Regions from separate parts of the Homo sapiens genome. Here all the other regions are linked to region 1. The links are contacts of gene promoters, found by promoter capture Hi-C in blood cells and fetal thymus (Javierre and others, 2016). All regions are on one chromosome and are shown on one strand. Each heading gives the region's core, a stretch centred on a gene start or on the middle of the fragment in contact. The rest is flanking DNA. Distances are from core to core; before and after follow the strand shown.

Region 1 (4,276 bases), core at 627-3,126:
ACACACACACTTCTCTTTCTTGCTTTGTATTATAGATGAGATTCTACTTAGGGGTAGGATTCATTATTCATGAAGGGTGTGGTCAGGTGAGGCATGTTGGAAGCAAAATGCGAATTAGGTAAGGTGGAGTAGAAGAGAGCTATTGGCAAGAGAAAAATTACTTGAGCAGTGTGTGAGTGGGTGGGTGAGAAAGTGGGCAGGGTGGACTCAGAGGTTGGGAAGCTGCTCCTGAGAGGAGAAGCCTCTGTCTCTACACAGGAACCTACCTGACACATGAGGCAAAAGGCTCCGACGATGCTCCAGACGCGGACACGGCCATCATCAATGCAGAAGGCGGGCAGTCAGGAGGGGACGACAAGAAGGAATATTTCATCTAGAGGCGCCTGCCCACTTCCTGCGCCCCCCAGGGGCCCTGTGGGGACTGCTGGGGCCGTCACCAACCCGGACTTGTACAGAGCAACCGCAGGGCCGCCCCTCCCGCTTGCTCCCCAGCCCACCCACCCCCCTGTACAGAATGTCTGCTTTGGGTGCGGTTTTGTACTCGGTTTGGAATGGGGAGGGAGGAGGGCGGGGGGAGGGGAGGGTTGCCCTCAGCCCTTTCCGTGGCTTCTCTGCATTTGGGTTATTATTATTTTTGTAACAATCCCAAATCAAATCTGTCTCCAGGCTGGAGAGGCAGGAGCCCTGGGGTGAGAAAAGCAAAAAACAAACAAAAAACAAAACCCTGGAGTGTTAGGAGGAGAGTGAAGGTAGAGGGGTGAGGAAGGGTAAGGGGCAGGGCTGGTTTCAGCTGGGGGCTCTCACCAGCCCTCCTTTCAGCCTCTACAACAGAGCAGCTTCCCAGACTTCTCCAGGAACCCAGAAACGGGATGGTTGTCGGCAAAGGTTGGGAGTGGCTTTTCCTCTGGTAGCCACACACCTGAGCACTACGGACAGGGAGGCAGGTGCCACCTTGACACCTCTCTTCCATAGCAATGGGAAAGTGATGAGTGCGGGAGTCCTGAGGAGATGTGGCCTGCAGACAACATGCAGCCATGCAGGGACCCAGGACTGTAACCTGGGGAGGACGCGGGTCCCTGCAAGGAAGAGTAGATTTGGAGAGGAAGGATGGAGGTGGACTCTCACCCCATTCCCCCCGGAAATGAACAAAGCCGGGCCCTTTCCATAGGAACTGCCCTTGGAGATAGCAGAGTGTGGCTGCCCCTCCTTGCTCCAGCAGCAGTGGGAGAGGCACTGCTCTGGGGCCTGAACTGCCTCTGCTTCCCCCCCTGAGGGGCCCCTCACTCTTACCCAAGACTCTGGATTGTTGCACGGCAACCACTCCTCCCATGGCATTGCTCAGCAACTACTTCTCCCTTCCCGGCCACCCTGTGCCCCCTTCCTGGTCCCAACGCCAGCCCTTCATCCTTCCTCCCTCAGCAGCCAGGCAGACATAACAACAAAACTACTAAAAGGAGCTTCACTGCAGTGAGCTGTTTCCTGCCCAAACTAAGGGAATAATGTGAACTGTGTGCATGTGTGTGGTGTGTATGCATGTGTGCATGTGTGTGTGTGTGTGTGCATGTGTGTGAGTGAGTGAGAGGCAGAGCGAGGAACTGAGGAGGAGGGCTAAGAGCCAGGGGTCCTGGGCAAGTGGACAGGGCTGTGGGACATGTTGGGGAGGCTTTGGGAATGGGGTATTCCTAGTCAGGGTTCACACCTCACCTGGGATGTTGTTCCATGCTGGTATTTCCTCTGCCACCCCCAATGCCCATCGGTCTTGGAGAAAGGAGTCCCCGGGTGTGTGTTTGCCCAGCTGTCCATTCTATCTCTCCCTTAAACACAGAGCATTCAGCCCTTCCCTGGATTTCCCTCCTCTGAGCCATGGAGTCAGTGCCACAGCCTTTGCTATGCACCTCTCAGGCCTCTCCTTGGCGTTGACCCTGGAAAGACCTACCACCACCTATTTTTTCCCATAGTCTGTACCCAGTGAGTTGAAGGCTGGGTCCCCACCCTTCCTTTTGATTTCCTGTCTTCCTTCTCGTGGCCCCAGCTGGTTGCTGTGGAGATGAGGTTCCTGGTCCTCCCTGTCCTGGCTGGACTGCCCCGCCTCAGATCCAGGATGCCCTTGGCATCGCTCCCACCCTCCCCCAGCTTTTCCTCCCTGGTCTGACAATGGGCATGCAAAAAGGGGCAGCTGCAATCTAGCAGGCCTGCCCACCCCCTTCAGTTCAGGTAATACAGTTGTGAATCTTCCAGCCGCTGGTTAGGGCCTTGGGCACCACAGGCAGCCCCTCACCTAAGCCGGGGCCTACTCCTCTTACAACAGCAAGAGAGCCCTGGGGCCCCAGGCCTGTTGAGCTTCTTGTCTCCCAGCACCCGCTTTTGGGAAAATGACTTTTCCTCTTCAAGCTGAACCACTCTGTCCATATTACACAGAAGCCATATTTGTACGGGGGGGTGGGAGGGAGAGGGGCTGTTGTGCTGTGTGTGTCTGTCCAGGGGTGGGGGGGTGGGGGAAGGGAGCAGGGAGGGGACCGTGTATCTTTATAATCTTTCTAACTCTCCTGTGCTAATCTCAGAGGGGTCACCCTCAATATATCTGGATTATCCGTGTCATTCAGCTGCCTCCTTTCTGGTCCTCTTGCTGCTGCTGGGATGTGTGTATGTGAGGGTCTTCTTCCCATACCCCTTGCACCTGGTGCCTGGTGCCTCAAAAGGTGGTGTGTCCCTTGCCAGGCCACTCTCAAGAATATCTATGTACAGCAACAATATAACTCTACAAGGGAGAGAAGTGTGTTCACTTCCTTTTGCTAAGCCCTTCCTTTCCAGAGAGTGTCTTGGGGGGCATCTGACTGCTTCCCCCCACCCTCTGCCAGGCATTGCTGGAGAATGTTAAGACGGCGATGGAGATGCCATCAACCCCACCCTGCAGAGCATCACCAGACACCACCAGACCAAATTCACTTTCCAGCCCCTTCATGTTGAACCTGAAACTTGAGCTAGTGTCTTGGGAGAAAAGGGGGAAATCTCTACGAGGTACCCATCCTTCTGCACCTTAGGTCTGAGGTGCTTGGCCCCCTAGGAAGCCCTACATGAATGGGACAGAAGGTCCTTAACAACACTGGAGATGAAGCAGCCGATGCTGTTTTGGACAAATGAAACAGCGTCCCCTAACCAGCCCTTTCTATCTCATTGTTCTGACTTGGACACGCCATGGCTCACCGCTCCCAAAGTCCCCACTATGTCTCCCTAGCTGAGGAAATAAAAGCAGAGAGGGGTGATGAAACAGTGACGATCCTGGGGAAACAGCTGAGGAGGGGAGGGAGGGGGAAGAAGCCACTAAAAAAGTGAAATGTGCTTGGGAGAATCGGCCTGCCTGCAGGGTAGATGCCCTTTCTCTCTGCTGGCCAGCTCTGCCCCTCAGTGAGAAACTTTACATATTGCTAAGATGCCTGGCCAATGAAACAGTTCCAGAGACTTTATGTCCCCCAGTAGAAATATGAATAGAAATCACCCTGTGGGCAATGGTCCCATTTTAAAATATGCTGTCCCATTGTCCCCTAGAGCCTACTTTAACTTGTCAGACCATGTATTCCACTTCATATGCAAGAGGCATGCACTGAGCCCATAGGTGGCTAGGCAAACACCCAATAGCTCCCTGAAATGGCTTCATTATGCAGCCTCGACAGCCACCCCAACCCTCCCACTCTCACACTGAAACACCCAGACCTAGAGATAGCTAGACACACCCAGACACCCGCCAAGCCCCTCACATACAGATATGTGCACAATGATACACAGCAAACGTACACAGAGTTCAGTACACACAAAGAGCTCACGCCCACGTGCACACACCCCTCAGTTGGGACAGAGTTGACCACCACCACCTTTCTCCCAAACACATGGCTTTTGAACTGCCTTTCCTTGGATCCAGTTCAAGGGGATGGAGGAGCAGTGAGAGTCAGCCGCCCTTCCACTCCAATTTCCCAGCACCTCCCTTATCTCTGCCTCACAAGTCACCCAGCCCCCCTCTCTTCCTTCCTTGTGCTTGAAGAATCTCTCCTTGCTGGAAAGCCCCCTGTTTTCTCAATCTCCCTTTCCACTTCGGTAAAATCTCTACTTGCTGGAAAGCCCCCTGTTTTCTCAATCTCCCTTTCCACTTCGGTAAAATGCCCACTTTCTGGTCCCCACCTTTTTCCTGAGTGTAGTCCCAACCAGCCAAATCCAACCTCAAAACAGGAAGACCCAAGGCCAGTGACCCCCATAGGCCTGAGGCTTGTGCAGGCAGTGGGCG
Region 2 (4,276 bases), core at 766-3,265, 810 kb after region 1:
AGACCCCACCCCAATTAAGAAATTCAAGCAAATTTCAGACAGGTGGCCACATGCACAATAATATGGCATATAGTGACATCTATTGGTCAATTGTGATATTGCATCCAACTTCCTTTCACAGGAAATTTAACAGGAGCTGGTTGATGTGGAATTATACTAGTCTCAGGTATAAATCAAAATAAGAAAAATTCCTTTCATACAGAGAAAGCAGAAGGGAGATCTTGGAATCTCCATGTTCAGTTAAAGGTCTGAGTCCTAGTCCTGATTTTACCATAAATAACTTGGTATAGACTTGGTTAAGTCACTTGGTCTCAGGAGCCTCATCTTCAATCAAACAGGGTCACGCCCTCTCAGAGGCCCTCAAAACACTAAAGGACACCCTCAGGGCCCTCTAGGAAAGGCAGAGTCAAGTGAGTGTGGCTACTGTCTTCACTCCCACATCTAGGCACATCTATTATTATCTTTTCATAAGCGAATTTTCTTCTTAAAAGTTTCAAAAATATTCTGTTTCTACTATTCGGACCTGGTCAGCCCATGTCAACATTTACTGTACCCCGCACATTTTAGGGTCCTGTACTAAATCTATTCTTGTTTAGTTTTGTTTTGTTTTACAGACAGGGTCTCACTCTGTCGCCCAGGCTGGAGTGCAATGGCACGATCACAGCTCATTGCAGCCTCAAACTCCTGGGCTCAAGCAATCTTCCCACTTTGACCTCCCAAGTAGCTAGGATTACAGGCATGAGCCACCAGGTCAGTCCGATGTACTGAATCTTTGTAATCTACAAAAATAGGAATCTAGCTCCCTTCCCTTTAAGAACTTACAATTTAGTTGTGGAATAAAACAAACACATCATCTACTCATTCTTTAACTAAGCATTTTTGTCAAATCAATTGGAAGATTTTCTTCCATGAGATCATATCTCTGATTTTATAAAACAAGTCAATGAGAGAGAGAAAATTCTTTTTATAGTCAATCTTGCTGGAAGGCATCTTTACCATAAAATAAATGTTTCAGGAGTCTCTTGGGAAGAATTCATGATGCAGTTGAGATCCACTGTCATCACTATGTAACAGTGTTCCTTCTCATGGGAATTGGATGAGATTAAGAGACTTTGTGAATATTCTCTGTTGTGCTTAAGCAAAGTTTATAAGGCTCTTGGTGTCCCAACCAAGAATACAGGCTTTGTATAGGCAAGAAGGGGAGGCATAAGATATCTGTAAATTTCCCACTAAAAGCTCATCTTCACTTAGAAACCAAATTGTTTGATTATTAAGCATTTCTATTCAAGAATAGAGAGAAATTTACTCCTCAATGATCCAAATAAGGTAATAATGTCATAAATAATGATTGATTAAGCACTTACTCTAGCCCTGAAACTCTCCTAACAGTTTTACCTCATTTAATTTTCACATCTCTAAAAAGTACATTCTATTTTTATCATCATTTTAGAGAAGAGGAAACTGAGGCACAGAGTTATAAAATAACTGAGGAAGTTATGATTAGCTAACTCCACTGATCCAGATTGCCTGCCCTTGCGAAAGTTGTAAAAGGAGGTCATAACAGTACCCCTCCCCCACAGGCTACCGGTTACCCCCAAGGACTTTGCTGTAGGCACAGCCTGCACCCAGCTCTGGGCTCAGGGACTTTCTGGACAATTGCACAAGGTCAGGAGTGGCATGGGCAATGCCTGAATAATTGCCCAGCCTTTTATGTTAGAAAAAAAAGAAAAGAAAAAGAAAGTGAAGTTCTTTAGGCCTGTCTCTGTCTCATAGCACTCTGCATAATCTGTCTTATTGTGGTCAAAATGCAATATGTACACTACTTTAGAAGCTTATCAAATCAGAGATGTTCTCTTGCTCAGGTTGGGCCCGACTGAATGATATCGGGGCAAAGTGATGAGAGTTTCAAGACTCCAACAGACATAAAAGAATAAAAGAGTTATTTCATTGTCCCATTTTTCCTCTACCCTAGAAAGTCCAAGAAACACTTGATTGTAATGTGTACAGTTTCCAGATTTTGACCGAAGATAAAGTTATTTTCAAATATCTGAGAAATCTAAGACCACGTTCCCTACCCTACCTTCCCCCTGTCCTCAAGTTAAAGACCCATGGACCACAGCCAAGCCCCTGGGCAAAGCTGGATAACTCTCAAAGGGGAAGTATTCTGACCTTTCAATTATATTCCCGAGAATGAGGATGATAAGCTTGAGTCCCCCAATCATAACTCACTGCCATCTTAGACCTGCTGAATGGACAGGTCTGCTCTGACAGATAGATTATGAGGCACGCAAAGAACAAAGAACCTTTCTCTGAGGAATTTCATAATCACTGTGTCTTTTCTTCTCCTTCCTTTAACATGTGTAATTTATCTTCTCTTGGAAAGGTGCATATAAATTTTAATGCAATTTGCTTAAGAACAATTAACAAAGTCACAATTTGAGAATCCTATTTGTTTCCCAGGAGAAAGGGAAACATCTGAACTGCATGCTGAGTACTAAGGAGACTTCAGGCCCTTAAAGAGGAATTTAACTAGAAGGTATCCCTGATTTGTCAGGCCCTTAAGACAATAAAACATATCTGTGTGATCATAAGACAGCCCCATCCTTCAACACTGACTAAAAAGCCTTAGGTGACATTGAACAAGCAGGCACATATCTCAGGACTTCAAGATTAGAGAGATGGAGCCCTCCATCTCTAGTCAAATAAAACACTAGTCACAGAATTTCTGTAAAGGAAGAGTATTAAGGACATTGTCCAATCTCCAGTTCTACGTACTTTCCCCTTCCACAATGTGTTTGGCAAATGGTCAGACTCCCTTTCTATTGTCCAGAGGCTAGGAGGAAAAGATTATCTTATTCCACATTAGAAACAAATGCTTATCCCCCAGGTGGCTATAAATCCCAGGTGGCATTCAGGTAGTTTCCCTTGTAACCTGCTGATGCAGCTGAAATTTTCTCAAGTATGGATTGGAAAAAAGAAGCTGCCTATCCATCTCTACCCTCCTTGCTAGGCTCTGGGAGGCATGCTGAATGCACAAAAGGCCCACTTTTCAACTTGAGAGTCAATACAAGTGGAATAGCCAGTGTTTCCAATTCAGCATGACAATCTGAGTCAATGCATTTAACACTCTCCCTTCGTAACTTGCAGCTGAAATGACCTATGCAAAAGAAGAGGACAAACACTCCACTCCTTGGTGTGACGGGACCAGAGATGAGTGACGATCATAAGACTGTCATTTTGTTGAGGGCAGTGTCAAATTCAAACTCCACCACCACCTTGAGAAGGAAACAGGTGCTGGAGCTCTCAAGGAGGGCCGGGTGGTCCCAGGGATGCTCAAGACTTGTTCACAGCACAGAAGGCATGGAGAATGGAGCAGAGGTTCTGATGAGGTTTGCTCTTGGGGAGGGCCGCCATGCTGGCTGGAGGGGTACTGCTGCCTGCCCCGGTGGGCTTCAGCTGCTGTGACAATCCCAGGAGGAGCCCTTCAGCCAGAGATGAGGCTGCCTACCTATGGCCACCTCTCTTCTTACTTCTCATACACCAAGACACTTCTAAGGTGGTTAAGGTCAACAAAATATAAACTTATTTCCTGTGCCAAGACTGAAAGGCTTTCACAGGGATGCATAATCTCTGAGAGAACACTTACCCATTCCCATGCTGGACAGGCATAAGCCTCCCATTGTAAGGATGAGAAAATGGAGGAAAATGACCACATATAGAAATAATGGGGCCAATATGAGGAGTGCCAGACAAACTTAATAAAATAATATTTATCTGGATTTATTCTAGCAAATTAGATTAAGAAGGATATTATTAGGGTTTATTAAGTAGTGTTAGACATTGGTAGGATTCATAATAAAAATACATACATGGCTTAAACTATGTGAAGCATATAAACCCTTAGAAAAATCTCTTATTATAATGTATTAAATTTAGAGAAGTCACAGGATAATATCAATAGATATTGAAGAGTCATTTGGTCTGATGAAATTCCACATATATTACTGATATTAATACAAAATCAAAACATCAGAGAACTATAAAAAGTATACTTCCTTGACACAATAAAAAAATGCTTACTTCATACCTAAAAGTCAAGCACAAGGGGCATTCCCATTAAAATTAGGTACCGTATAAAGATGCCTGCTATTATGAGCCTTGTGTTAGTCAAGGTTCTTCAGAGAAACAGAGCCAGTAGGATATGAGAGGGGATTTATGAGGGAATTGGCTGCTCACATGACCACAGAGGCAAAGTCCCACGACCAGCCACCTGTAA
Region 3 (4,276 bases), core at 1,316-3,815, 790 kb after region 1:
TGGAAAAGAACTGAGAATGGCCCCCAAGACCAGAGGAAGCCTCCAGCTGACAGCAAGCAAAACCCCAGGCTCTCAGCCATACCACCACAATAAAATAAATTTGGCCAACAACTTGAGTGAGGTAGGAAGCAGATTTTCCCCCAGCAGAGCCTCCAGATGAAAACTTTGGCTGAAGTTTCAGTCCAGCTGAAGCCTCAACTGCAGTCTCATGAGACTCTGAGCAGAGGACTCAGGTAGACCACACCTAGACTCCTGACCCACAGAAGCCAAGTTGATAAATGTGTGCATTGTTGGGAGCTGCTTGATGTGTTGGTGATCTGCTATGCAGCAATAGAAACTAATACAACATCTAAAGACTTCATATGAGGCAAACTAAACACTGTTCCAAGTACCCATGAAAATCCCAGAAGAGCTGACACCAACAGCCCAACACAGCCAGGTTTTTTCTTCCAGATTGGGACTTACAGTACCAATCAAAGAAGGTGGCTTTCATTTAGGAACCATGTGGTTCAAAACTACAAGTGTTTTTAAACATTAGAATCACACTCAGCATACTAAGATATCACACAAGATAACTGAGATTTAGGCAAAGCCGATTTGCCTCTCCTTCTCACTCTCATTCTGTGGTGTATATTCATTGAATGGAATAGCAGGTGGAGATTCTCTTACTATTTAAAGTGTTCTCTTGCTCACCGGGCACACTGGCACATGCCTGTAATCCCAGCACTTTGGGAGGCCAAGGTGGACCTCCCACTTGAGGTCAGGAGTTTGAGACCAGCCTGGCCAACGTGGTGAAACCCCATCTCTACTAAAAATACAAAAATTAGCCAGATGTGGTGGTGCATGCCTGTAATCCCAGCTACTTGGGAGGCTGAGGCAGGAAAGTCACTTGAACCTGGGAGGCAGAGGTTGCAGTGAGCCAACATTGTGCCACTGCACTCCAGCCTGGGCAATAGAGACTCCATCTCAAAAAATAATAATAATAATAATAATAATAGTACAGTGTTCCCTTGCTCAATACATAGTTGGGTTTGCTTAAGTTAAACAAGCATATAATGTAATTCCTTATTTGAGATTTTGTGTTTGCATTTTTAAATTAATAAGACATTTGTGATAAATTTTGGAGAAGCTTCTTTTACACTTTAAGACATCTAGTTTAGCCAAGACCATATTGAACCTGCCCATAGTCCATTGACAAGAGAAATGAAAATCCTCTTTCAGGAGGTAGCTGCAAAAGAATATGAATGCTTCTTTGGGCCCTCTATGTAAAACATGGCAACAAAAGGACTCAAGCCAGATCTTCTATCTCCATCCATCTCAGAAAGAATAATTCATAATGAGCGAAAAACAGCAAAATTGTGTCACTAAAATGACCTGAGACTTGGAATTAGGCAAAAGAAAATTCTAAGTGTTCTTTCAGTGCAGTACAGGGCATGATTTCTATGGACTATGTTATTTTACAATACTGTAGGAATACACCAGGCACAGTGGTTCGTGCCTGTAATCCCAGAAATTTGGGAGCCTGAGGCAGGAGGATCCCTTGATCCCAGGAAGGACCAACCTGGGCAACACAGTGAGACTCTGAGAGACAAGCGCTGGACACAGGAGCAGGCCACATGGGATGGTCTGGACAGGCTCTGCAGCACAGCAGCCTTCATGAGAAACAGGCAGAAGGGCCCGGGCATGAGAAGCTACTGCAAACAAAAAGCAGCAGCAGCTATAAAGGGCTTGTTCCCAAGCAACATGAATCATCTCTGAACTGGTCTGGTCCAATCCCTATAGTCTAACTAGCAAATATATTTTTTAAAATATTAGCAAACACACACACTAAAAACAGATTTTCATCTTTGCCAAGTGTGTGTTTTTTTCCTACACCAACCTATTATCCAATTCTCCTACAACAACTGAGTATCCTATAATTCAGTTCAACTCTGAGACTCAGTGGCGGGCAGACTCCACAGGCTTAAGGGCACAGTCCCATAGGATTGCCCTCACTTCTGATGCCAGTCACAAGCATCAGATCTCCAGGCTACCCACATTTGCATCTGACTTGGCTACAAAGTCAGGCTTCCCACACCCCACCCCTTGCCAGGGTTCAATAATTTGCTAGAATGACTCATAGAACTCAGGGGCCACTTTACTTACATTTACCGATTTATTATAAAGGATACAAATGAAGAGCCAAAGGAACAGGCCCAGAAGATGAGGTCCGGGAGGGTCCGGAGCACAGGGCTTCTGTCCCCATGGAGTTGGGATACACCATCCTCCCAGTATGTGAACGTGTTCACCAACTCAGAACCTCATTGTTTAAAGGTTTTTATGGAGCTTTTATTACATAGGGATGATTGATGGAATCATTGGTCATTGGTGACTAAATTCAATCTCCAGCCCCTCTCCCTTCCCCATATGAGGAGGGGGTGGAGCTGAAACTTCTGAGCTTTATCAGAACTTGATCAGAACTAGCTCCCATCTTAAAGTGATCTAGGGGACCCTGCCAAGAGTCACCTCATTAGCACAAACACAGATTGCTGAAAGGGGTGCATAATGAATAACAAAAGATGCTCCTATTGCTCAGGAAATTTCAAAGGTTTCAGGAGCTTTGCGCCAAGGACAAAGAACAAATTTTTTTTCCTATTATATATTCCAATGAATCCAGACAAGTTCATCAGAAAGTCAAACATATTGGTTGTCACAGTATATCTAAATAAGTTATATTTTTCTATGAAATGACAAAGATCATCATATTTGATCTAACCATATACTGTCCACAAGAGGCACATCTAAAACAAAAATAAATAAATAAAAATAAAAAATAAAAAGATAGAAAAAGATATAGTATACAAAAAGAATTAAAGTCCTAAACTATTAAAATAAAGGATAAGTAGTAAAAATCAAGATCTGCAATGAAGATGTGTTTGTCATAAATCTTTAGTTTCTGAATAAGAGGAAAATGACCAAAACACAATTGCTGTGGAGATTTCATCAGTTCTTAACAGATCAAGTAAACAAACAAAAGATGTAGAATGTCAGAAAAAAGTCATTGCTGGGATCCACTTTGTAAATATTGAAAAAAAAAACAAAAAAAATCTTTTTCAGGGTCTATGGAACAATTTTTTAAAATTGATTACATATTAAACCACTAAAAACCTTAAATAAATTTCAAGCCCAGAAATTTCATGACTACATTGCATACCACAATACAGTAAAACCAGAAATTGAAAAAATGTGTAAACAAAAATCGTCCAACTACTTGGTTTGAAAACACTCTTCAAAATAATCCACGGATCAAACAGGAAACGAAAACTGCAATTTACAGAACTCTTGGGCAATAATGATAATGAAAATACCACATATCAACATCAAGAGAAGACATCCACATCTGTAATCAGAAGTGTAAAATCAACTTTAGCCTAAAGCTGCAGACTTACTTATTTTAAGTTCGGTCTAAAGGCTTCTCAGTACATCGTGAACTGTAACCTACCTGGATGTATAAACAGACTGTAGCCTACTTTTGTGCCAATCAAGTTTGGGCCAATCACAGGCTGCCAACCATTCAAACTGTGTTCAAATAAGCTAAATGCCTGAGCTGTAACCAATCCAGCTGTTTCTGTGCCTCACTTCTGTTTCCTGTAAGTCACTTTTCTTTTCCTGTTCGTAAATATTGCTCCACCACACAGCAGCGCCATAGTCACTCTGATCCTATTCTAGTTTGGGAAGCTGCCTGATTCACAAGTCATTATTTGCCCAGTTAAGCTCTGCTAATGTTAATTTCTCTAAAGTTTATCTTTTAACAGAAGTGACTTCAAAGGGTTTGAGGAAAATGGTAATGAACATTTGTTGAGCAATTACTGTCTGCCAGACACTGTGCTAAGCACTTTTACAAGTGGTTTCTCAATGATTCCCCATAACTAACCTGAATTGCTTTAATTATCAAATAAGAAAGAATGAGAATATATGAAGTAAGCATATAACTCAAGATGTCAAAAAGAGGGATGTTAAATTAAGCTTTAGAAACAGAATAAAGTAATAAAGTTAAGAGATGAAACTCATGAGAAACCTGTGAAGGAACAGAATTGATCAATCAGCCCCAGCAGGTGTACATAGCAGAAGCTGTCATGCTTCTCCCATATGCTCAGAGCCACATCACTTCAGTGTCTTCCAAAAGAATTCCAATGCCAGTGTCTGCATTCCTTTGCCTACCAGCCTTTTCTGAGACTGTAAGCAGCCTTTCTGCCTGTGCCTGAGACAGGCTATAAGTGCCAGGGAATTAACACCC
Region 4 (4,276 bases), core at 548-3,047, 740 kb after region 1:
TGAGTGCTGAATGCAGATACTAGAAAGGTGAGGAAATGGGGGAGGCTGGGAGAGTTGGGAAGGTCTTAGGAAATGTGGAAGGATTCTGGGGATGCCTGCATTCTGAGGGTCTTGAAAAACTAAGCCAGAAGAGAACTGGGGTTCCTCATATGCTTGGAAAAATATTTTTGAAGGAAGTATGGTAGATCAAGACTCTCATGGCCTAGGCTGCTCTCGCTTCTTTCCTTACTCTTGATGCTCACAAGGTATAGCAGCAAGATGGAACCAGTGCTGTCGCCTTCACCCCTCTGTGACAAATAAGGGCCCTGAGGATATCTGCTCAGGGGCAGAGAGCCAGTCAAGGGCAAATCCAGGGCGCTTAAGCCTCAGAAAGTGGTCCCCAGGACACCCCGATACAATCCCTTGTCCCATTTCCCCAGCCTCTATGAAAAACTCTGGAAGCTGAGGACCCGAGGCCTTTCTCCATTCAGTCTCCCTACACTGCTTTGGCAGTGAGTGAGTCAGGCACTTGGGAGAGGAGGAGCTGCCTCCCCCACCTGCCAGTATGGGGGATCCAGGCAGCATCCTCCAGGTCTGGACAGGTCCCGGGGCTGGCAGCTGGCGCCACTTCCTCACGATACTGCCAAGCAGCCCTCCCCCTGCCAGGCACCACCACCCAAGGACCTCACCCAAATCCCTCCCACTCACTCCCCTCCAATATCTTCGGGGTGCCAGGGTTTGTCAAGCTCTTTCTTCCCCAACCCCAGAGGCATGGTCCAAAAAAAAGCCTGTGAGTCCCTGAAGTGTACAAAATTAACCCTGGGGCATGGAGGGTAGGAGCTTCTGACAGCCCCACAGATCCTAGGGCAGTCTCAGAGAGCCAGAGGGTCCATGCCAGGGCCTGGCACTGCCAAGTGGACTCTGCTCTGAGTCCTCCAACCCACTCTTGGCCGCAAAGTTCAGGACAGACTATAAAACATCCTCCACAGAGTCTGATCCTTGCCTCTACTTAATGATCCTGTATGTCTAACTTCTGGCAATTCACTAGCAACCAAGCCCCCTGTTTCCCACTGCCTCCAGGCAGCTCTCCCACACTTCCCTGAAAAACCTTTTTCCAAGTATATAGGAACCCCCTAGTTCTCTCCTGGTTGTTTTCCGAGACTCTGAGTAACTAGGCATCCCTAGAATTCCTCCCAGTCTCTTAATATCTTTCCAACTCCCCCGGCCTCCACTATTTCCTCACCCTTCTAGTCTCCCCACACACCACTCCCTCGTCCTCCCATTACTCCCTTCCCAGTTATCGCTACTACGCACAATCCCCCCACAATTCCAGCTTCTCGCACCTGATCTCCAATTGCAGCAGGTCTCCTGCACTATAAAGAACTCCCTTCTGGTCTCCCCACCCCCCAGCCACTTCTCCCCATCCTCTCCTCCCGATAATTCCCCTCCCTGGGATTCTCCTGCATCAGCCCACAATACAATTCTGATACCCCACCCCCAACAATTCCTTTCTCCCTCGCATTCTCTGGTCCCCTGGAACTCCTCCTTTCTCTTAGAACCCACCAAGAACTCCCCCACATTGCCTCCAGAACTCCTGCAGTTCTCCGGGAACTCCCACCCACCCGCCAAGAATTCCACTTCACTCCCCAGAACTCCCCTAGTTCTACTCCTGCAACGAATTCCACTTCTCTCTAGAACTCCCCGCTTTCTCCTGTCCCCCATAACTCCGCACTACCAGCACCACCACTTCTATACCTCCAGTACGCCCCCTCCCTCACCTGCTCCGCACCGCTCGGCTCCACTCTCGCCGCTACACAATAGGGGGCGGACCCGCCTCCCCGCCTCGGATGCCCCGAGCGCCTCCCGTCGCCCTGGAGACCGCCAATCCCCCTCCCGCGGCGGCCAATTGGAGCCGCCAGAGGCACGGCGAGGCGGGCGGGACCCCTGAGCGGCCTGGGAGTTGTAGTTTCAGGAGGGAAGAGCTCGGCTGCACGTGGGCTCAGGTCGCCCCCTCGTGGACCTCTGCACAGCCAAGCGTGGAAAGGCCGGTGGGCCGCTTCCCGCCGCCAGCAAGAGGGGCAGCAGGGTCCGGCTCGCGCTCCAGGGCTGCGGGAGCTGGCCCCTTGCCAGGCTACTGGTACGCCGTCCTTCTTTCGGAACCTACGGGCGACCCTCTCCGCTCCCCGAACGGGCGCGCCACAGAGGCGGCAGCGAGGGTTGAAATCTGAGCCTGGGGGTAGGAGAACCAGGCGGGGAGCATGACTCCCCGCCCTCCTCCCAGGGGATCCACCCAGGTCCCGGGCTCATCCGATCTCCTCCCCCATCCCCATTTCTACCTCCACCCATTGCTTCTCTAGCAGGACTGGAAATACCTGTCTGCATTGGCGAGCTCCCAAATCTTGCCCAGGCGCCTCCCACCGTGTGCAGCTGAGGAAGGCTGTGCTCTGAGCGTGGGGTTGCCAAGTCAGCTCCCAAGGCAGCTCTGGCACCAACGACCCAGAGAAACAGGCCCAGAGGGGAGAAACGACAGATATCCTGACACGGGAGATTGAAAGGGAGGAATGAAATACAAGATCACTTACTGGACCCATGCAGGGTGCCAGACCCTGGACTAGATGCTTTATAACTCTTGTGTAACCTTCACAGAAACCCTGCGAAGTAAGTAGAGCTCCCTTTGACTAATGAGAAAACTGAGGCTCAGGGAGATGAAGTAACTTGGCCCAAGCTTTCCCAACTAGGTTATGGCAGAGCTGGATTGAGACCCAACCCAAACTTCATCAAACCTACTCCCTTGGAGGCTTCGCCCTCAGACACAAAGATATCTTGCATATCTTGCCCCTCAGAGATTCCACCTCCTCAGCCTGGTGATGCTGTAGGGATGCTGGGTCGGCTTAAGCAACATTGCCTGTCCAGGTCCTTCCCATTCAGTTGGCTCCCTTGGAAGCCTTCCATGAAAGCAACGTGCTGATCTCATCCCAATCCGAAGTACTAAGACTCAAACTGAGTGCACCAGGCATCAGACTCACAGAATCACTGCTGCAGCATCATGAGAGAACCTCCAGGATGGGCCTAAGCACTACTTGGCCCCAGAATCCCTGGCACATCATTTCTCCATGTAGTCATCCAAGCCCCTATCTCATTACATCCTGGGCCAGGAAGCTCAGCACTACTGTTGTACCCATTCCATCCTTAGTAAGCTCTGCCTGCTGGACAGTTCTTCCAGGTGTAAAGGTTTTAGTGCTTTTGGGTGACTGAGATGGAAGGGAAGAGGCAGGAGCAGTGGGCCAGTCTCTCCCACCATCCCTCCTGCAAATAGTCCCAAAGTAGCAGCTTTTCAACAATGCATTTCAACATAATACCCTGATCTATTGATAAGACTATAATGGAAACATGTTAATGAATGCAGCATGGAAGCAAGGCTAGAAGAAATGGTAAAAGAGTGAAGCGGGTTTTTTGTTTGTTTGTTTTTTTGTTTTGACAGAGTCTCACTCTATCGCCCAGGCTGGAGTGCAGTGGTGCAATCTCGGCTCACTGCAACCTCCACCTCCCGGGTTCAAGCGATTCTCCTGCTTCAGCCTCCCAAGCAGCTGTGATTACAGGCGGCCACCACCATGCCTGGCTAATTTTTGTATTTTTAGTAGAGATGGGGTTTCACCATCTTGACCAGGCTGGTCTTGAACTCCTGACCTCATGATCCACCCACCTCGGCCTCCCAAAATGCTGGGATTACAGGTGTGAGCCACTGCCCCCGGCCGAGCCAAGTGTTTTTTAGTCTTTGGATCTTTACCAATCATTGGGAAGGATCTCCCTCCCCGCTGTTAGAATTGGCCACACCTTTGATCTAAACTGCTGTCTCCAGTGGTTTCTTGAGGATAAACTAATCTCATTTAGACATTAAAATAACTTTCTGTTAAATGACATTTAAAATGGTTTTCAATTTTTAAAAGTTTATGATATGGCCTTTTTTTTCTGGAAACTTATTTTGTGACTTTTATTGTTATTGCCATTTTTTGTCTGATTTATATGTATATTGGAGATTTTTTGTTAAGAAAAGGAACCTAGCCCTATAACTTGTTCCCTCACTGTGCCAGGAGTGAAAGCTGATTTAAAAAATAGTCCCTGAGGTTCAAAACAAAAGACTTTCCTCTAGGTTGTCCTTGATTCATAGTCATTACTCTCTGGGAAAGCTTATTCAACCAACGAGGATTCCACCTAACCTAAGTATCAGGCAGCCCCCATATTTTCAAATTGCTGACAAGGATATCAGAAAATATTCTCTCTCTCCCCCTCCTCCTCC
Region 5 (4,276 bases), core at 1,176-3,675, 690 kb after region 1:
ACATGTACCCAAAACAACAACAACAATACAAATGTCTGTAAGTGAAATTGCATTTTGGCCAGGTGGGGAGACTTACGCCTGTAATCCCAGCACTTTGGGAGGTCGAGGTGGGCAGATTGCTTGAGCTTAGGAGTTCAAGACCAGCATGGGGAACATGATGAAACCCTGTCTTTACAAAAAATACAAAAATTAGCCAGGTGCAGTGGTGTGCACCTGTAGTCCCAGCTACTTGGGAGGCTGAGGCAGGAGAATCACTTGAGCCTGGGAAGTGGAGGTGGCAGTGAGCCGAGACTGTACCATTGCACTCCAGCTCCAGCCTGGGTGACAGGAGTGAAACCCTATCTTTAAAAAAATAATAAAAAATAAATGCATCTGTTGATCCTTTCCCTTACCAACAGGAAAACTGCTGCAGAGTGAGAGTCTTCTAAATGGATTAAGAAGCCTATCTCAATCCCTCTGGAGAGTCCTCTTCAATTCACAATGAAGATGTTGAAGAGCAGGGACAGACATCAACACTCCTCTCCCCACCTTCCCCACTGGCAGAGGCATTCAGGTCACTACTAGTGTCTCTCTTTCTCTTTTCCCCTTCTCTTAATCTCTCACTGCCCTTCTCTCCATGTCATATTCTCTTTTTCTCCTTCCCTCTCTTCCTTCTTACCTACTAAACTCCATATGTACCAAAATCAGTCAAAGCTCTACTATCTAGCTCTCTTTATCTAGACTAAAGGAGTTGTCCACCTCTTGGTCTAGATAACACTTGCAAATAAAGACCTGCTCGTTTCCCAAAGCTAAGTAATTGTTTTAGTTGAGCAACTGGGAAAGGAGGATGGTTTTGTGTTGTACTCTGATGCTATTATCCTTGGATGGAGCGGGGAAGATGTTGCTATTGTCTGCAAGCTTAGCCCATCAGCCCTGCAATGTTTCCATCATGGAGCTCAACTGAGCAACTATTGCACTCTCTGCAGCTGAGCCTCCCTTTTGACATTATAACAGATTTTAAACACTGTGAAGACATGAGAGATTCTAGGGTGGAAGAAGCTAGGTGTCCCTGTTTACATAGGCCCCACTAGATCCCAAAGCTCTGCAGCTCAGGTCTCAGAATTCCCCTTTGTCTTCAGTCTGAGAGTTACCTACGAGAGCAAGGTTACTCAGCAGAAGCTTTGCCCTGAGCTACATTTTTGGGCCTCTGCCTGCAGGTGGCATCAACTTGAAAGGACTTGTTGAGGATTACCTTGATATCTCCAAAGAGGCTCTCATCCACCTCAGAGCTCACGGCTTTGGTCCGATAGCGAGCCTTATTCCTTGACCTGTTGGAAGCGGCAGAAGAGGAGCTCAGGATGCCAGCTGTGCTTAGTGGCTGCAGGAAGAGGCAGAAAGTTTGGGTCATCAGTACTGAGTGGCATCCAGACCCTGGGAAGTCAACAATTCACCAGCCCATGCTGGGGGAGTGGGTGGGCATGTGAAAAAGAAACAGTTAGGGAAAGCGGCTGTGTAAACTCTGAACCATAGGGGACAAGGAGCAACAGATGGAGGGCATCCCCACAGAGCAGGGAAGGGTCTCTGCAAAAAAAAGAGCTCTGCATAAAGCAGCATTTGTGTAAAACAGTTGATCTCATAGAAGTACAGAGTAGAATGGTGGTTACCAGAGGCTGAAGAGAGGAAGGGGAGGGGCATGGGGAGAGGTTGGTCAGTGAGTGCGCAGTTACAGTTAGATAGGAGGAATAAGTTCTGGTGCTCTATTGCACAGAAAGGCCACTATAGTTAATAATAATGTACTGTATATCTCAAAAGAGATACACAATATCTAGGAGAGGATTTTGAGAAATATAAATGTTATAAGATTAAATGAGATGGCAAGGTCTAGTATTTGATAGCGCAATAGAATGACTAGAGTTAACAATAATGTATATTACTATATATAAATGTATATTAATATACATGTATACAATAATATATATAAATATACATGTATACAATGTATATTAATTTACATTGTATATTTCAAACTAGCTAGAAGAGAGAATTTTGAGTGATCTCACTGCAAAGAAATGACAAGTGTTTGAGGTAATGGATATGCTAACTACCCTGATTCAATCATTACACAATGTATATACATGTATCAAAACATCACACTATACCCCATAAATGTGTACAATCATTATGTGTCAATTAAAAACAAAACTGTTTTGTTTTTTGTGGGGTTTTTTTAAGAGCATTTCTGTAGTCCCTGAAGCTGAAGGCCAAGTCGGCCACATAGTATGGAAGTAAGGATAAAGGAAGCAGGAATGGCAGGAGGAGAGAAGCAACAGTTTCTCATTATCTGCCTAGTACCAGTTTCCCAAGAGGACAATCTCTTGTGGGGCAACTTGGGCTTGCCCCCTGAGACACGCACAGTGTCCCCTTTGCCTCCAATCTTTTCAGCTTGTGCTTCAAGTCTTTCTCACAAATGACGCTACTGTTTGACCTCCTTCGTGTCTCCACAATCTTACAAGGTTATGGTGGGACCACAGGATATAAAGGATGGAAAAGTGCCTCACCCACTGCTTGGCATGTGGTTGATGCCCAATAAACTTGAGGCAGTGGGTGAATGATAAATGATTACTAGCTATAATCAAGCAAACCAGTTCATAATACCCACTATTTGGCTGTTTCTCTCCCAAGACCCTTTTAGTGTGCCTTAGTCATTTTTTAACCCCCTACTAACTTCCTATTTTGGCAAATTCCCCATCTAATGAGTTGTGGGAGATAGTGCTCTTCTCCAACTACAGAAGCTGAAAACATCAAATATTCACCTCAGCCTGGCCAAGGGACCTAGGCTTAGCCAATGAGATGGCCCTGGACTGACAATGACTAGGGAACTAGTGGACCAAAAGGCAGAACAAGGAAAACCTTTCTGACCCAAACAGAACTGGCAGCCAGACCCAGCGTCTGGGCAACACTGATAACGATACCAGCAGCGGCACCCTATGTAAGGAATTGGCAGTTTTGGGGGTGCAACAGTGCATCAGGGTCCTTGCCAGACCAGTTCTAGGTTTTGATTTTGGTCTTGGTTCCAGCTGCAGAAACTTCTTTTGTTCCTATTTGTGAGCTCTCCAAAACCCTCTTAACACATTCTCTTTTACTTAAATTGGAATTCTGGCTCTGTTGCTTGTAACTAAGAATCTGACGAACACAACCTCCATTCCCAAAGGACAGGCAGCTTCATCTCAGTCCCAAGAGTAGACGTCTATCTCTAAAAGGTAGTGTCTACAAGGACTACTGGATGACTCCAGGCTTATGATAAAGCTGATTCAAACCTCACTTTGGAGGAGCCCACATGCCCCACACCTCTCTAAACTGGGCTACCTTGAAGGAATAGGCCAGGCACATTGGGTCTCCCCAAGCCTGGGAATCAGCAGCTGATAAAGGAACAGGGTAGACAGGGAAATATACCATGCTTTCCAGGTCCCTAAGCCCTGGACAGTGTTCTGAAAGCTCTCTCTGATCTGCCATTACCAACCAGACACCCCAGCACCTGTTACTCCTGTATCAGGTTTTCACACTCGATTGGACAATTATTTTCCAGCTGTCTCTGTGCTGTACATTGAACAATGCTATATGTGCATTTCCCTCACTGCCCGGCACAGCCAGCAAAAGGCTTACACAGGGAGTCTCCCTCTACAGCGTCAGCCAGCCCCAATACTGTAGAGCAGAAAAGCTTGGATTTATTAAAAGGTAAATATAGCAGCCCCAAGGATGCCTAATAACAGCCTCTGAAGGGTTATTATATGGTAGGTGGTGAGCTACGGCTCCCCTTTCCACCAAAAATAGAATAAGAGGAAATGAATAGAAACTTCAGTAGGTGGGATTGAGGCTAAGCATTGGGAATAACTGGAAAAGGTGGATGGCTTTGGATCATGAGTTTTGTATGTAATTAAGGGAAAAGGTGCAGTGCCTGGCACATGTAGTAGGAACAATATAGCAATGTGCATTTGATGAAGAATGAATAAAACCGAACAAGGTGACCTCTCAAGGACAGGACTGCAGACCAGATTGAGATGGATACTTTTCCGGAATACAACTGCCTGACTCCAAGTCACTCCACCATTCCATGTTTTCCAGATCACGTATGTGGTCTCCACTGTGGATAATAACGTATGTGAAAGGGCTTTGGAATACAGATGGAAAGTATTATTGTTTTCCATTTGTTTTCCTGTCTGTTTTCAAGGACTCCAACAGGTTTTCCCTTGTGCTGAAGTGTCCGCCAGACTGCAGGTTCCTCCAGGGCTGAGCCTGC
Region 6 (4,276 bases), core at 852-3,351, 560 kb after region 1:
GTAAAAGTAGGAGAGCAATATTCACCTCAATGAATTTTTATGAAGATTAGATAAGACATGTTTGTGAAAGTAAGTTATCGCCTGTACAGCATTGTACAACACTAACATAGCAACTATGATTATTGTTGATTTACACTGTTGGAAACACTCTATGGAAAACAGAAGAGAAGTTGCATTGAGTCGGGACACCATGGTTCATCCGTCTGAGCTCCTGCCTTCTGTGGGTTTTCTAAGCATAGAAGAATCAGGCAGAATGGCATTGAATTCTGCTGTAATCAGATATTGATTTTCTTCCTAACTGAGAAAGGAGGATTATTTAAACTTTCATTTATAGGAAACTGGCAGGAACCTGTTTAAATGGCCCAAGTAAGTTTTCACCTCTTTAGCAATATCCTACCCATGTGATCAGAGGTTTCCCTATTTCAAGAGGTAATTGCAGAATTTCAGGAAAGCCACCTATTACTAATTGTAACAAATCCATCAATCTCTACAAAGAACAACAGACCTGTCCCTCCAGAGCCCCACTCTTAGGCTTTGCTGGGCTTACTGCTCCATGGATCACCAGGCTCCTGTGGTCACAAGGAGGCTGTAAGAAATGCAAGGCCATCTAAGAGGAAGTTGAGCATGCTGCTGTGTTCCTCAGGGATGTCCTGAAATGCCCCCTGTTTGCAGTGTTGTGAAATGTTGTAGATTCTCTTCCAGAATTTTCTCCTCCATACCAAAGTCTAAAAACTATTTGTTGATAAAGGTTTTAGGCAATTACTTCAGAACATAGCTCCATGTGTTGGGTTTTCTGAGCAGTCAGCTATGTAGAAGCTTCAGTTAGCATTCTTTCTCTCTCTCTCTCTCTCTATCTCTCTCTCTCTCTCTCTCTCTCATCCTTCCCATCCACATTTGCAGGTAGCATGCCCTTGGCAGCGTTGATCCCATAAACAGAATAGTAAGCAACTACTTGCCTGGTGTAATTTGAGATGTGGCACAATCCCCCTGCTCAAAATATCATCCCCACCAAATGCCACAGGGCCTAAAATTCCCAGTATTCAACTCACGGCAGCTAATCTTCTCTTGCTTCACCCCATCATCTCTCCTAATACCTGCACGTGTGAAGCATGTCCATCCTTCCGGGCCTAACTCAACATCACTTTTTCCTGAAGCTTTTGTGATTGCCCAGTTGGAAGTGATCTCTCATTCCTCTGAACATTCAAAAAGCTTCACTTGTGCCGCTTTTATGTTACATATTACTTTATATTTAAACACATGTACTATGTCCCACCAGGCATAATCTGGAGATTCAATTCCTCTGCTGACTCTTATTTATCTTTGTACCACCATCCCATCCTCAAGTAACCAGACCCAGAGCTGACAGTTAATAAAGAATCAGTATCTGACCAATGGGTGCTATATGGGTGAATGAGGAGTAAGACACAGCTTCTCCTGGGCTGAGATTTTGCTGCTCACTAGCTGTGTATACTTCAGCAGTCACTTCAGTTTTCAGAGCCTTATTGTCTTCCTATAAAATAAGGTCATTGAAGAGTTATAAAATTCCAGAGCTCTCTCAGCCATCATTGCTAATCTACTGGATGATCTTACAGCTCACACTGGTTCAGCAAAAGCCCAATATTATTTGCATTCACTTTTGGAAATGGCTTGACAAAATATATACTGTATTAAGGTCTTTAAAAAGGAAAAAGGTAAATTTTTAAAAAACAGTAAGATAAGGCCAAATAAAAAGCAAACACACAGAAATAAATTATTGATGGTCCTATTTACTTACGAAGTAGGACATAAATTTAGCTTTGAGCTTCATAGCAACCAAAGCAAAAATGTATTAAAGTAAAAGTCTATTGATTGCTCAAGAAAATACAGATTTTCCTGTTACTAAATTCAAAAGAAATTGATGTAGTAAACTTTGTACTCAAAAATCCCAACAATGAATATGCCAGAAAGTTTCATAGAACTATTTCCTGCAGTATTCTTTTACAAGAGTGTTCCAGTTATCTATCGCTGCACAACACCAAAATAGTGGCTTAAAGTGACAGCATTGTATATTATTATCTTACTGGGGATAGAGGGGCTAAGCTAAGCAATTCTCACTTACAGTCTCTTACAGAAATGTAGTCACAAAGTGACTGGGTCCGAAGTAACCTGGAGCCTAAGTTAGGAAGATTCAAACAGCTGGAGGCTAGAACAGTTGGTCCTCTTCAGATACCTCTCGAGGTCCCTCCATGTGACTCCAGCATGGCAGTGTTAGAGCAGCTAGAACTCTTACATGAAAGCTCAAGTGCTGAGAGGGAGACAACCAAGCCAACTTTAGCACCTTTTATGAGCTAGCCTCAAAAATCACATAGTATCACTTCTAACACATCCTATTTGCTAGAATCAAGCCACGAAGACCAACCTATATCCAAGGGAAGGGTATTTTAGTCTCCATCTTTTGATGCGGGAGTGAGATCCAAGAAAGTGAGAATATGTTTTAAAACCATGATTAAGGAAAAAATAGAAATTTGCTATTCAATAAATGCTATTCTTTGGAAAGCCAAAGAAGAAATACTTCAGCTTGATTCAGGGATAAAATTTAGAATTACAGAGTTGTGCTGTTCAATATGGAAGCCACTGGCGTGAGTGGCTATTTAAACTTCATTAAAATTAAATAAAACATTTTCAGTACCATTATTTTGTTTTAACAGCCACATTTCAAATGCTCAATAGCCACACATGGCTAGTGACTATTAACGACGGACACACAATTACAGAACATTTCCATCAATGCAGAAAGTTCTATCGAGCAACAGTTACCTAGGATAATGAAAGAACAATATATCCTTAATAGAGGCTGAGGTGTAGGGAGCATTACTTGAGCCCACAAATTCAAGGTTACAGTGAGCTACGATCATGTCACTGCACTCCAACCTGGTGACGGAGCAAGACCTTGTCTCTAAAAAGAAAAAAAAACTATATATTCAGCTGTCAATTAGAACTGCTAAGTCTTCTAATTAAGCTTTTGGTAGGAATTGGGCAAAAGAGATGTCCAAACTGTAACATTTGACAAGACTATGAACTGCATAAAATCTGTGTTGCTAAAAAAAGATAGTCCATATGCCTTAAAAATCAACCAAGTAGGAGGTAGATTCACTTCCCTTAAATAAGACGAAGGTAGGCCTGGGTGGTTGCTGTCAAAATGGGCAAGTTCATAAAACCTGGGAAAGTAGTGTTGGTCCAGGCCAGACACTACACCGGATGCTACTCTGGATGCAAAACCATCATCGTGAAGAACATTGATGATGGCACCTTAGAATGCCCCGTCAGCTGTTCTCTGGTGGCTGGAATTGACTGTTATCCTTGCAAGGTGACAGCTGCCATGGGCAAGAAGAGCACCCAGAGGTCAAAGACCAAGTCTTTTGTGAAAGTTTATAACTACAATCATCTCATGCCCACAAGGCACTCTGTGGATACCCCCTTGGACAAAACTGTCATCAACAAGGATGTCTTCAGAGACCCTGCTCTTAAACACAAGGCCCAAAGGAAGGCCAAAGTCAAAATCAAAGAGAGGTAAAACCTGGGCAAGAACAAGTGGCTCTTCCAAAAGCTGTGGTTTTAGATGTTTTGTTTTGGTCATTAAAAATTTAAAAAATAAGTCAGGTAGTGTGATGCCTCCAGCTTTGTTCTTTTGGCTTAGGATTGACTTGGCAATGCAGGCTCTTTTTTGGTTCCATATGAACTTTAAAGTAGTTTTTTCCAATTCTGTGAAGAAAGGCATTGGTAGCTTGATGGGGATGGCATTGAATCTGTAAATTACCTTGGGCAGTATGGCCATTTTCACGATATTGATTCTTCCTACCCATGAGCATGGAATGTTCTTCCATTTGTTTGTATCCTCTTTTATCTCCTTGAGCAGTGGTTTGTAGTTCTCCTTGAAGAGGTCCTTCACATCCCTTGTAAGTTGGATTCCTAGGTATTTTATTCTCTCTGAAGCAATTGTGAATGGGAGTTCACTCATGATTTGGCTCTCTGTTTGTCTGTTGTTGGTGTATAAGAATGCTTGTGATTTTTGTACATTGATTTTGTATCCTGAGACTTTGCTGAAGTTGCTTATCAGCTTAAGGAGATTTTGGGCTGAGACAATGGGGTTTTCTAGATATACAATCATGTCGTCTGCAAACAGGGACAATTTGACTTCCTCTTTTCCTAATTGAATACCCTTTATTTCCTTCTCCTGCCTAATTGCCCTGGCCAGAACTTCCAACACTATGTTGAATAGGAGTGGTGAGAGAGGGCA
Region 7 (4,276 bases), core at 743-3,242, 540 kb after region 1:
GTTGCAAGATGCAACCTTGAAGCTTACAGCAGAAACCTTGTTTTTCTTCTCCTTAGTCTTTTTTCAAGGTTGCAAGATGCAACCTTGAAGCTTTCAGCAGAAACCTTGTTTTTCTTCTCCTTAGTCTTAACACACAGCTTTGAACTGTACTTTCTTTAAAACACCAGGTTGCTCCCTTTCTCACCATACACTCTTACACCATGCACATTTATCTAACTGTATGCTTGTATCTAATTATATGCTTACTTAGAAGTTCCAGGGGCTAATCTTGAGACAGACAAAGCCTGGAAATCCAGCTGCAGAATTCCAGCGATTAACTCAAGGCAACTAGTCAACAACATGGCCATTGTTGAGATGATGCCAGCTCACGCTCCAGGTGGACTGAAATCCAACATAGCCATCGAAACAAGACACACAGACCTGAGCTCAGCACAACTCCTGCATGTCTCCCCTGTTAAGTCCCTTCTTTTTGAAACCTTGCCTTCTCCCCAGTAGTTCAAAGTGGTTGCTTTGGTTGGGAATCTGGCCACCTCCCCAGTACTAGTTTTGGTTAATAAAACCACTTTCCTTCTTCCAGACCTCACTCTTGTTAATTGGATTCTGCAAGCAGCAAGCATCCAGACATGCATTCATTTATAATAATGGGACAGATTCAAATTGTGTACCACTGACTAGATGTAATGAGGAGAAAAATGCAACTATTCTGTGATATTACTGCCAAAAAATAACTGACCTGATTCTAATCACAAGGGAGCACCCAACAAACTCCAAAAGAGGAACATTCTCCAAAGCAATTGGCCTGTAATCTGCAGAAGTGCCAATGTCATGAACATTAAGACAATTTGAAGAACTCTTTCAGAATAAAGGGGTCTAAAGAGACATGATAACTAAATGCAATGTGTGATCTATATTGGGTACTTTTGCTTTAAAAAGGACATATTTGGAAGAATTAGTGAATTTGCAGAGGGTCTGGGGATAAGATGGTACTAATATATTGGTGCTGATTTTTTTATTTTGATTGTTGTTATGTACTTGTAAAGGAAAATATCCTTGCTTGTAGAAATTATACATTAAAGTGTTTAACGGTGTCTTAGACACGCAGTGCCATGAGCAGTCTGGGTATCCATTCCTGTTGGAATGGAAATACCACAAACTAGGTAATTTATAAATAATAGAAATGTATTTATCTCAGCTCTAGAGGCTGGGAAGGAAGTACAAGATCAAGGTGGCAGAAGGTTTAGTATCTGGTGAGGGCCCAGTCTCTACCTCCAAGATGGTGCCCCAAACACGGTGTCCTCACATGGCAGCAGAAATGGAAGAGGGAACAGGCCTAGATAATTCTCTTGACCCCTTTTATAAGGTCAGTAATCTCATTCCTGAGGATGGAGCCCTTATGACTTAATCACCTCCTAAAAGCCCAACCCCTTAATACTATCACATGGCAGCTTAGATGCCAACATATGAATTTGGGGGGGACACATACATTCAAACCTTAGCACAGGTAATAGGGTATCACATTGGCAACTTATCCTTAAATGCTTCATAAAACAGAAAGTTCTTTGTATTATTCTTAGGGGAAAAAATAATTACCTTCAATGACTTCCATGTCACTCAGCCAAAGTCTTCTACAGTGGCCTTCAATTCCCTCCATGACTTTCCTCTATTGTCATCTTGTGCCCCATTTCTCTGGATTTTCCCCGTAATCTGCTCTAGTGACACAGATTTTCTTGCTTTTCCTCAAACCCATCAGGCACACTCCCACCTTAAGGCCTTTGCACTAGCTATTCCCCCTGCCTGGAATGTTCTTCCCCAAGAAATCTACCTGGTCAACTCCCTCATCTCCATCAAGTTTTACCCAAATGTCATTGTTTCAGTGGGGCCTACAAGGACCACCTTACTTTTTTTAATTTTACTTTAAGTTCTGGGATACTTGTGCAGAACCTGCAGGTTTGTTACATAGGTATACATGTGCCATGGTGGTTTGCTGCACCTGTCAACCCATCATCTAGGTTTTAAGCCCCACACGCATTAGGTATTTGTCCTAATGCTCTCCCTCCCCTTGCCCCCCACCCCCCGACAGGCCCCAGTGTGTGATATTCCCCTTGCTGTGTCCATGTGTTCTCATTGTTCTGAATGAGAACATGCAGTGTTTGGTTTTCTGTTCCTGTGTTAGTTTGATGAGAATGATGACTTCCAGCTTCATCCATGTCCCTGCAAAGGACATGAACTCATTCTTTTTTATGACTGTATAGTATTCCATGGTGTATATCAGTTACATTTTCTTTATCCAGTCTATCATTGATGAGCATTTGGGTTGGCTCCAAGCCTTTGCTATTGTAAATAGTGCTACAGTAAACATACATGTGCATGTGTCTTTATAGTAGAATGATTTATAATCCTTCAGGTATATACCCAGTAATGGGGTTGCTGGGTCAAATGGTATTTCTGGTTCTAGATCATTGAGGAATCGCCACACTGTCTTCCACAATGGTTGAACTAATTTACAGTCCCACCAATAGTGTAAAAGTGTTTCTATTTCTCCACATCCTCTCCAGCATCTGTTGTTTCCTGACTTTTTAATAATCGCCATTCTAACTGGCATGAGATGGTATCTCATTGTGGTTTTGATGTGCATTTCTCTAATGACCAGCAATGATGAGCTTTTATTCATATGTTTGTTGGTGGCATAAATGACTTCTTTTGAGAAGTGTCTGTTCATATCCTTCGCCCACTTTTTGATGGGGTTGTTTGTTTTTTTCTTGTAAATTTGTTTAAGTTCTTTGTAGATTCTGGATATTAGACCTTTGTCAGATGGGTAGCTTGCAAAAATTTTCTCCCATTCTGTAGGTTGCCTATTTACTCTGATGATAGTTTATTTTGTTGTGCAGAAGATCTTTAGTTTGATTAGATCCCATTTGTCAATTTTGGCTTTTGTTGCAATTGCTTTCGGTATTTTAGTCATGAAGTCTTTGCCCATCCCGATGTCCTGAATGGTATTACCTAGGTTTTCTTCTAGGATTTTTATGGTTTTGAGCTTTACATTTAAGTCTTTAATCCATCTTGAATTATTTTTTGTAAAAGGTATAAGGAAGAGATCCAATTTCAGTTTTCTGCATATGGCTAGCCAGTTTTCCCAGTACTATTTATTAAATAGGGAATCCTTTACCCATTGCTTGTTTTTGTCAGATTTGTCAAAGATCAGATAGTTGTAGATGTGTGGTGTTATTTCTGAGGTCTCTGTTCTCTTTCCCTTGGTCTATATCTCTGTTTTGGTGCCAGTACCATGCTGTTTTGGTTACTGTAGCCTTGTAGTATAATTTGAAGTCAGGTAGCATGATGCCTCCAGCTTTGTTCTTTTTGCATAGGACTGTCTTGGCTATATGGGCTCTTTTTTGGTTCCATATGAAATTTAAAGTAGTTTTTTTCTAATTCTGCGAAGAAAGTCACTGGTAGCCTGATGGGAATAGCATCGAATCTATAAATTACGTTGGGCAGTATGGCCATTTTCACAATATTGATTCTTCCTATCCATGAGCATGGGAAGTTTTTCCATTTGTTTGTGTCCTCTCTTATTTCCTTGAGCAGTGGTTTGTTGTTCTCCTTGAAGAGGTTCTTCACATCTGTTATAAGTTTTATTCCTAGATATTTTATTCTCTTTGTAGCAATTGTGAATGGTAGTTCACTCATGATTTGGCTCTCTGCTTGTCTATTGTTGGGGATCACCTTATTTTAAAAGGAAAAAAAAAGTCAGTCTTCTTTTCACACTCTTCATTCCCAAATCCTGCTCTAGTTGTTTTGTTTTTATTTCTCCAGAGCATTTATCCCCTTTTACAGACCACATAATATAATTTTATATTACGTTTATTATTCATTGTGTTTTTCTTATGCTAGAATATAAGCTTTATGGAAAGAGAGATTTTTGTTTTTTTTGTTTTCTTCGCTGATTTTTCCCAAGTTTCTAGAACAGTATATGGCACATAAATATTCATGGAATAAATCAAAGAGTTTCCAGTTCTGGGTGTAGGATCAAATGTATTTGAAATAATATTTTGTAGTTTTTATTTTTTTATTTCTCAAAATAAAAAATTGGATTTTTAAAAAGGAAGCAAAGAACAGGACTTTCATTTCTGTCAATATAATAGACTGGAAAAATTCAAACTATAGAAGGTTTACAAGTACTGGTAAAAAATAACAAACATAATTTTAAACGCATAGTTAATCTACAAAACGGCAAAGGAAAGCCCCAAGAAACAATAAAAAATGAGCAGGAAAGCCA

The links. Contacts are between HindIII fragments. The CHiCAGO score rates a contact against its expected background, and 5 or more counts as called.
Region 2: a contact is called between a fragment that was not itself captured here and the fragment with the promoter of CADM3-AS1 in region 1, in 1 of 17 cell types (M2 macrophages). The highest score is 7.5, in M2 macrophages.
Region 3: a contact is called between a fragment that was not itself captured here and the fragment with the promoter of CADM3-AS1 in region 1, in 1 of 17 cell types (naive B cells). The highest score is 5.3, in naive B cells.
Region 4: the fragment with the promoter of IGSF9 here is called in contact with the fragment with the promoter of CADM3-AS1 in region 1 in 3 of 17 cell types (M2 macrophages, megakaryocytes and erythroblasts); the score reaches 6.5 in M2 macrophages.
Region 5: a fragment that was not itself captured here is called in contact with the fragment with the promoter of CADM3-AS1 in region 1 in 5 of 17 cell types (erythroblasts, megakaryocytes, M0 macrophages and 2 more); the score reaches 10.4 in erythroblasts.
Region 6: a contact is called between a fragment that was not itself captured here and the fragment with the promoter of CADM3-AS1 in region 1, in 3 of 17 cell types (M2 macrophages, M0 macrophages and endothelial precursors). The highest score is 11.9, in M2 macrophages.
Region 7: a fragment that was not itself captured here is called in contact with the fragment with the promoter of CADM3-AS1 in region 1 in 1 of 17 cell types (M2 macrophages); the score reaches 5.4 in M2 macrophages.

What each region holds. Positions count from the first base shown.
Region 1 is chr1:159,200,546-159,204,821 of GRCh38, forward strand. CADM3-AS1 (CADM3 antisense RNA 1) reads right to left here and starts at 1,877. Exons shown (of 4, transcript NR_037870.1): 1 at 1,705-1,877; 2 at 267-1,076. CADM3 (cell adhesion molecule 3) reads left to right here. Exons shown (of 9, transcript NM_001127173.3): 9 at 259-2,768. The coding sequence ends at 377. The HindIII fragment of the contact is 9,224 bases long and covers 1-4,276 here.
Region 2 is chr1:160,007,709-160,011,984 of GRCh38, forward strand. All of the region lies in intron 3 of LOC124904436 (a long non-coding RNA gene), which reads right to left. Among named protein-coding and RNA genes, the nearest start is that of PIGM, 22 kb to the right of the region's middle. The HindIII fragment of the contact is 373 bases long and covers 1,830-2,202 here.
Region 3 is chr1:159,988,121-159,992,396 of GRCh38, forward strand. No RefSeq gene overlaps it. Among named protein-coding and RNA genes, the nearest start is that of LINC01133, 29 kb to the left of the region's middle. The HindIII fragment of the contact is 2,876 bases long and covers 1,128-4,003 here.
Region 4 is chr1:159,943,816-159,948,091 of GRCh38, forward strand. It overlaps IGSF9 (immunoglobulin superfamily member 9), which reads right to left and starts at 1,798. Exons shown (of 21, transcript NM_001135050.2): 1 at 1,758-1,798. LOC124904438 (a long non-coding RNA gene) reads left to right here. Exons shown (of 3, transcript XR_007066684.1): 2 at 2,337-2,637. RefSeq lists a silencer at 1,784-2,078 and an enhancer at 1,921-2,421. The HindIII fragment of the contact is 10,806 bases long and covers 1-2,702 here.
Region 5 is chr1:159,891,949-159,896,224 of GRCh38, forward strand. It overlaps CFAP45 (cilia and flagella associated protein 45), which reads right to left. Exons shown (of 12, transcript NM_012337.3): 2 at 1,232-1,357. It overlaps LOC124904434 (a long non-coding RNA gene), which reads left to right. Exons shown (of 3, transcript XR_007066678.1): 2 at 399-553; 3 at 1,197-1,278. Among named protein-coding and RNA genes, the nearest start is that of MIR4259, 6.0 kb to the right of the region's middle. The HindIII fragment of the contact is 2,539 bases long and covers 1,157-3,695 here.
Region 6 is chr1:159,755,992-159,760,267 of GRCh38, forward strand. It overlaps the pseudogene RPL27P2. Among named protein-coding and RNA genes, the nearest start is that of DUSP23, 23 kb to the right of the region's middle. The HindIII fragment of the contact is 1,789 bases long and covers 1,208-2,996 here.
Region 7 is chr1:159,739,512-159,743,787 of GRCh38, forward strand. No RefSeq gene overlaps it. Among named protein-coding and RNA genes, the nearest start is that of CRP, 27 kb to the left of the region's middle. The HindIII fragment of the contact is 3,809 bases long and covers 89-3,897 here.